Regions from separate parts of the Homo sapiens genome. Here region 2 is linked to region 1. The links are contacts of gene promoters, found by promoter capture Hi-C in blood cells and fetal thymus (Javierre and others, 2016). All regions are on one chromosome and are shown on one strand. Each heading gives the region's core, a stretch centred on a gene start or on the middle of the fragment in contact. The rest is flanking DNA. Distances are from core to core; before and after follow the strand shown. Region 1 holds the start of CEP68 (centrosomal protein 68). Region 2 overlaps PELI1 (pellino E3 ubiquitin protein ligase 1).

Evidence for each region. The method cuts DNA at HindIII sites, captures the fragments that hold promoters and counts their contacts. A CHiCAGO score of 5 or more calls a contact.
Region 2: a fragment that was not itself captured here is called in contact with the fragment with the promoter of CEP68 in region 1 in 1 of 17 cell types (naive CD4 T cells); the score reaches 5.5 in naive CD4 T cells.

Annotation. Positions count from the first base shown.
Region 1 is chr2:65,054,355-65,058,228 of GRCh38, forward strand. CEP68 (centrosomal protein 68) reads left to right here and starts at 2,062. Exons shown (of 7, transcript NM_015147.3): 1 at 2,062-2,174. RefSeq lists an enhancer at 1,655-1,894 and silencers at 1,995-2,104, 2,185-2,524, 3,155-3,204, 3,215-3,294. The HindIII fragment of the contact is 3,790 bases long and covers 1-3,151 here.
Region 2 is chr2:64,140,995-64,143,694 of GRCh38, forward strand. The region is part of intron 1 of PELI1 (pellino E3 ubiquitin protein ligase 1); the gene reads right to left. Among named protein-coding and RNA genes, the nearest start is that of PELI1, 2.1 kb to the right of the region's middle. The HindIII fragment of the contact is 1,420 bases long and covers 541-1,960 here.

The DNA of each region.
Region 1 (3,874 bases), core at 812-3,311:
CATGTCACCACCAAAGGAGCTGGTACGCACCCTAATCAGAGTACCAAAGCAGGATGGCTTAGCTGGTTCCTAACATTTCCAGGCCTGGTTCTCCAGCATTGCTGCTGCAAGGAGTATAACTACAGACAGCTCTAGGCCTACTTTTCCCGCGCTCAGAAACACCAAAAGAAAGAGCCTCTTTCTCCCAGCCTCATTCTCTAAAATCCCCGACAAGGGCTCAGATCATCTCAGGTTTGGTCATGTGCGCATCCCTGGGGAAATCTGAAAACAAGAGGAGGGAGACTACAGCTGGTCAGGCCTGGGTTCCACACCTCCCCTTCTCCACACCCATCCTGCCTTGGGAGACCGGAGAAGTGCGGTGCTAAAGAACCATCTGACCCAGCGGACTGCAGACAATTCCCAAAGGAAAGTTTTCCCGTCAGGCAAAAACAAAAGCTGCTCACAACACAAAATTACAGAACATCAGAACCAAAAGGAACCTTGGGACTCCTTCATCCTATCCCCTCTCTTTATAGATGAGGAAACCATACAGGATATGTACGCCTGTTTGGACTTTGTACAGTTCTCTGTCCAGCAGGGGTGACTTGGCTGTGGGATTAGGTGACTCCACTGGAGGTCTTCTGTGTATAGAAAAGATCAAGGGTCACAAACACAAATGCCTTCAGGTAGGCAGCAAATGTGTGAAGGCTGGCTGTTACTTAATGGACCAGTGGTGGTGGTGGGATTCAAATTCTTATTAAAAAACAAAAGCAAACAAACAAAGAAAAGCTATGCGATGCCCAAATAAAACCATCTGTGGGCTAGCTGCTGCTGTTGTCCAAAGTTTGTGGCCCCTGGGTTAGACAAAACCTCTGAGCTGTCCTGACAGGTCTGGGAAAACCAAACAAGTCCTTGTCTCCTAAACTACCTGGGACTCAAGAGCTCTGTAGGAAAAAATTTGTACCCTGCACCCAGCTGGGGTTGACATTTACAGACGCCTGTTTTATGAACTGGGGAGATATTCAGTTGAAGCCAGATTGCTGAAAGTGCTGCTGAGAGAAAATCATCAGAAGGGAGGGCCTCTTCCCCACGCCACCCTGGTGGTAGTTCCTCTATGCCTCCGGATTCTGCTAAGCAGTAAAAGCTAAAGGGCAGTGTCATTAAGCTCCTAGGGGATGGGATGCAGTGGCTCACACCTGTAATTCCAGCACTTTGGGAGGCCGAGGCGGGAGGATCGTCTGAGTCCAGGAGTTCAAGCCCAGCCTGGGCAACACAGCAAGACCCCATCTTTGCAAAATAGATAGATAGATAGAGATGTATGAAAGTTACTAGGTCCCATGCTGGCAGGGGAGAGAGTGAGCACCCTGGCCTCCCACAAGCTGCCTCCCACTTCCCTCCGACTCCATCACCGATTTCCCATCAGAGCAGGCTGCTCAGAGTGGCTAAGTAGCTACCAGTTCATTTTCCACACCCTTCCCATTCTCCACGAGCCAGAGCTCCACCTCCCCCCAGAAGCTGTCTTCAACCACCCGGCCTGGGGAGCTCCCCTCAGCACTGGCTCCCCGCCCCGCCTCGCAGCACCTGTTCGGGCCTCGGTCGCGCCGCCGGGTCTTGCAGACGCGAATGTAAACAGAAACACAGTGAAAGGCGTTCGGAGAGCCTCGTGACTGCGGCACGGCGGCGAGCCGGGAACATCAGTGCGTCCAGAGCAAAATGAACGAATGTACGCATGACTCCTGGAGCGACCTTCACGAGGGAAAGCGCGCCCCCCGGCACCCACCCCTAAGCGCCCCAAAATGACCAGCCTTTACACAACCCAGCTCGCAGGCGAAGCTGAGGTCGGAGCTCCAAAAGCGAGGGAGGACAGCCGCTGAAGAAGTCCCGGCTTCCCATAGGCCAGGACGAAGTAGGGGGCGGGCTCATCTTGCAGGAGCGTCCACGTATTGGTGGAGCCGCGGACTTAGAGCTGCGATTCGCTGCGCGAAATTGCCGAAAGCCCTCCCGCGGAGGGAGAAGGGGCGGGAAGAAGGGCGTGGTCAGCGCGGCCGAAGGGCGTGGTTGGCGCTCGGTCCTGCCCTGCGCGTTTTGGGCTGCGGTTGGAGGGCCGCAGTTGCAGTCAGGGTCCGCCAGCTCGGGGCCAGCGCATGGGGCTGCTGAGACCGCTCCGGACGTGCGAAGCGTTCGCGGTGCGGTAGGTAGGCAGTGTCCCGCGTGCGGGTGCTGGTGTCGGGGGTGCCGCGGCGCTGGGGGCGGTGGCCCGGGCTAGATCCGCGCGCGCGCCCGGCCCCCTCCCCCGCGTCTCTTCGGTGCCTGCGGGGCCCTTGCGGTGCGGGCCGTCTGGCCTCGCGTCCCCGCCGGCAAGGGCACAAAGGCTCCCTGGGGGGCGGGGGCGCCTCGTGCCTTCGCCTCCATCTTGCGAGCGGAACGGCGTGTGCTGTGGCGGCCGAGGGGTCGGGGCCGAGGCGGGCGGCTGGGCTTGGGAATGCCCGGGCGCGGCGAGGGAGTGCGCGAGTCCGCGCATCTGGCGGCCGAGCAGCTGCGCCGCTGGTCGGCCTGGGCCCCGGGGGAGGTCACTTTCCCTCAGGCCTCTCCCGGGCGTGGGCTGTTTACCCAGCTCCCCAGTCGGGGCTAATGCAGCTCGGGCCTTTCCCCCTGGAAAGATGGAGACCAGTGATGTCTTCTTATCGCCGCGCCCAGATGCGGAGAGAAAAAATCAAGATGTCTCATTTTTTTTGCCTCGGAGGGCTACCCTTTCTAACTGTCATCACTAGAACAGTTCTCAGCAGCCTGGGGACGAATGTCCAAAACCTGTTCCAGGCCCTTGATGATTAGTAGGTTGGGTTTAGTGTATTGTTTGTAACAAAAATGAGCGGAAGCCTGCCAGGGCAGATTGGACCTCACTGGGAATTCATCAGGACCACGAAGGGAGGTAGCGTTTGTAAATAATCTAACAGTTCTCAGATCTAGGGTATGAAGAGTGTTGTGTTAAAGTGTGTAACAAAGGTTGTTGGGTCAGTTTGCCTTGGGTTTAGTTGAAAGATCTAGAAGTCACCACTTTTTACTTTGTTCCCTCCATTCCCCTTTCCCACCCTCTGTTGAGTCAATTCTGGCCCACTTAGAAAACAACAACAACAAAAAACCCAAGGAATTCAGTTTAACCTCTTTTGCGCAAAGCTTTTTAAAGCACTTCCCCACCCTGCGACTGATAACTCCTCCCTTTTTTGGGCTACCTTCTGCAGCCTCTGTTTTTACTCATCACACTGTATTGTGGTTTCCCCAGCCCCTAGCACAATGCTTGGAACATAAAAGGCACTCAATGATGGAAGGAAGCCAAAAGGAAACAAAATCAGCGTGGTAGTCTAAAGGTGACACAACAGAAACATTTATTTAACTTCTTGAGCGAGTTATTCTTACAGGTTAGGAAGGCAGCTAAGCTCAGGCTCTCTAAGTCAAACAGGCTTTAGCTCTGCCATGTTACTAACTCTGATTAATTTTTTTTTTAATGGTGATGGGGGTCTTGCCATGTTGTCCAGGCTGGTCTTGAACTCCTGGGCTCAAGCAATCCTCCTGCCTCTGCCTCCCAGAGTGCTGGGATTACAGGCGTGTCATTAAGTTATTTAACTTCTCCGTGCCTTGGTTTCCTCATCCTTAAAAATGGGAATAATAGTAGTACCTGTGTGGTGAGTTATTAGGATTAAATAAGATATTGATGTATAGTGCCTAATATAGTTCCTGGCACAAAGAAAATGATCAGTAGCTGTTAGCTGTTAGCAGTCGTTAGGAGAAAAATAAATGGATACTTGAATACACTCACCAATATGAAATATCTGTATAGTACTTGACCCTTCAGGATCTCTCTGTTTTTTGGTCCTTATCCGATCCCTTTTTTTGAGAC
Region 2 (2,700 bases), core at 1-2,500, 910 kb before region 1:
AACCCAAATCCCTTGAAAGAATGACTTCTATTTACTTTGCCTGTGTAATATATTCAGAGGGAATCTGGAAAAGATGGCTAGAAATCTATAAACAGAAAGTGCTAAGTGGAATTCACTGTTTATAGACTTCAACTAGAATTTTGTCCCTTATATATAAATGCTGCCAACAATCTTTACATTGTATTATTTAAAAACATCTTCATCAGGTTTTCTTCACTTTGCTGATTTTCTTCCTTTTCTCACTGGCTTTTAAATCTGCTTTACTGTCCTCAAAGACATAAATGTAACTTTTGGAATAACATGTTTCCCGCCCCCACCCCAAAGGAGCTCCTAAAGCCACCTCAGTGCCATCATATATTAGTCATTATGAAATTTTAATATTTACAGTTAAATATATCTGTATAATAAAATAATCCAAAAAGCCTTTCTAACCTAATAAATACTAGGATAGGTCTACATTGATGTATTATGGTAAAATGTGTATGTATATATTAGTTTTCAATTCTAAGTCTTTGGCTTAAAATCTTTATCAGCTATAGAAGCTTCTGCCTAAAAACATTAGTTGTCCACGAAGCATAATGACTATCTACAGTCCTTACCACCTGACCTACTAGAAAACCATAATACATCATATTCTGAAATGATAGAACTCTTAAAATACAAAAGTGACATTCTGACAACCCAGAAGAGGCTGAACTTAAATCAAATGGAAACATCCTTTGGCTTCCCCTTTGAAACTTGCCTCAGTGGCATTTGGCAGTACTAGACTAACTTCCTACCCCGTACTTTTCAGTCATTTCCTTTAAGGGGTCTCAAAGAAATTATGAAACCTGCAAAGCCAGACTTTGCCAGTCAACACTAACTTCTGCCTGTGGATTCCAGTGACTGAGCCAAGACAGTGTTAGTAGCTTCCTTGAAGTACAAATGTTCCTGGTAAATCTGGCTTGAAAATACCACAGAAAAAGTTCAACATAACCAACTGTAAGAACATTTAAATGCCAATCTTAAGGAAAGAATGGATTCCCTCCCCCTACAAATTCCACTGAGGCAAATTTCCAGCTTACTTTTTAGAAGCAAATAAATACTACTACTATTACATTACAGCACTTCTACCATGCTAATAAAAAGCTAGGTGATAGTTTCCTCTTTAAAACCTGTACATTCACTACATGAGACACTATAACCACTTCACTACATGCAACTTTCCATACATATAACTGTTCTACTTTCCAATTATTTATTTTAAACTCAAGATCTCTTTTAACATACTATAGAAAGGGAACAGGTTAGAAGGCTTTGGGAAAAAAAATAAAATAACGAACATCTCACTTTCATTTTCTGATGCAACCACCAAAATCTAAAATGTAAGGACAACTATATAGTACAAAATTAAATTTAAGAGAATTTAGAGTAAGTGAAACTATTCACTATTACTACAGTTCTGATTATTATTTACCTGAGGAAAGAGCTAGTAGAAGTGATGCTTGGTTTAAATTTTTGGTGCTTTCCAGTATGGTACCGAAGAAATAAAAACTCACAAAATAAATAAGGTCCTCAGAGTTAAAGACTTTTCCCCAGAAGAGGTTGTTGGTATAAATAAAAAAAACAAGGAATTCATATGCTGTATTTGTACACTAAGAACAATGTTTTGAGACATGTAAATCTTATCACTCAGAAAATATTTTGTTGGCTATAAAGAAAACGCATCGTAAACTGAAACAGAACTGAATAAAGTGAACCTTTACCACAATTAAAATATTTTAAATTCACCCTATTATGAAAACTTAATAATAAATTCATTTATCCTTAAGTGTAAGAGTAATACATATTCGACACAGTAAAGGACAATGCCATTTCTGAAACAAAAGATCATGTGCAATGAAAACAAAGTAACATTTTGCAGAGTAAGAAAAAGTAAAGAGCCTGTGAACCGAAACAGATGACCTTTTCTTATATATAAAGCTTCAGTTTTTAGCACAACCAGCACCTTATGAATAAAGTTCTCAATAACATTTGTTGATATACTGTTTGATGACTAAACGACAGGAATATTGTTGGTGCTGTTAAAACCAAGGCACATTTCCTTGTGTGTAGTGATTAAAATCTGTTAAATGTACATTTTTAAAAAACCTCTGCCCTCTGTCCCCTTCTTGCTCTCTTGCCTCTAACAGACCTGCACGTACAAAAATAAAAGTAGATGGTGACGTGAGTTTATGATTTACATTAATTTCCCTACTCGGAGCATTTTTCACTAAGTCTTTAGAGGTTTTAAGATTCAAACACTATGTAAGAAGAATTATGGTTTGAACTACGTAACAATTACCTAGACATCTTTTGGACTTCAGTTAACCTGTAAGTAAAATGAGCATCTTTAACTTTTCCACGGGGCTTTGGAGAACGGGTTCTTCCTCATAAACGCTTTCATATACTCAGACACGAGGCGCGGTAGAAGATCAAGCGTATCCATCAATTTGAGAGCTTTTCACGACCTCAGTTTACCCACTTAGGGAAACGGGCGTATTAACTTGTTTCCTAGGGGACCCGGGGGTGAAATTAATTAGCGTGTTTAAAATGCTCTGAGATCCAAAGATGAAAGGAAATGTGAAAGACGCGCAGAGATGATGACAACAATCATAACAATAAAAAGAATGACTAACTTGAAGTCTGCGTTATGTAAGGGAGGAAAAGAAGTTATCAGAT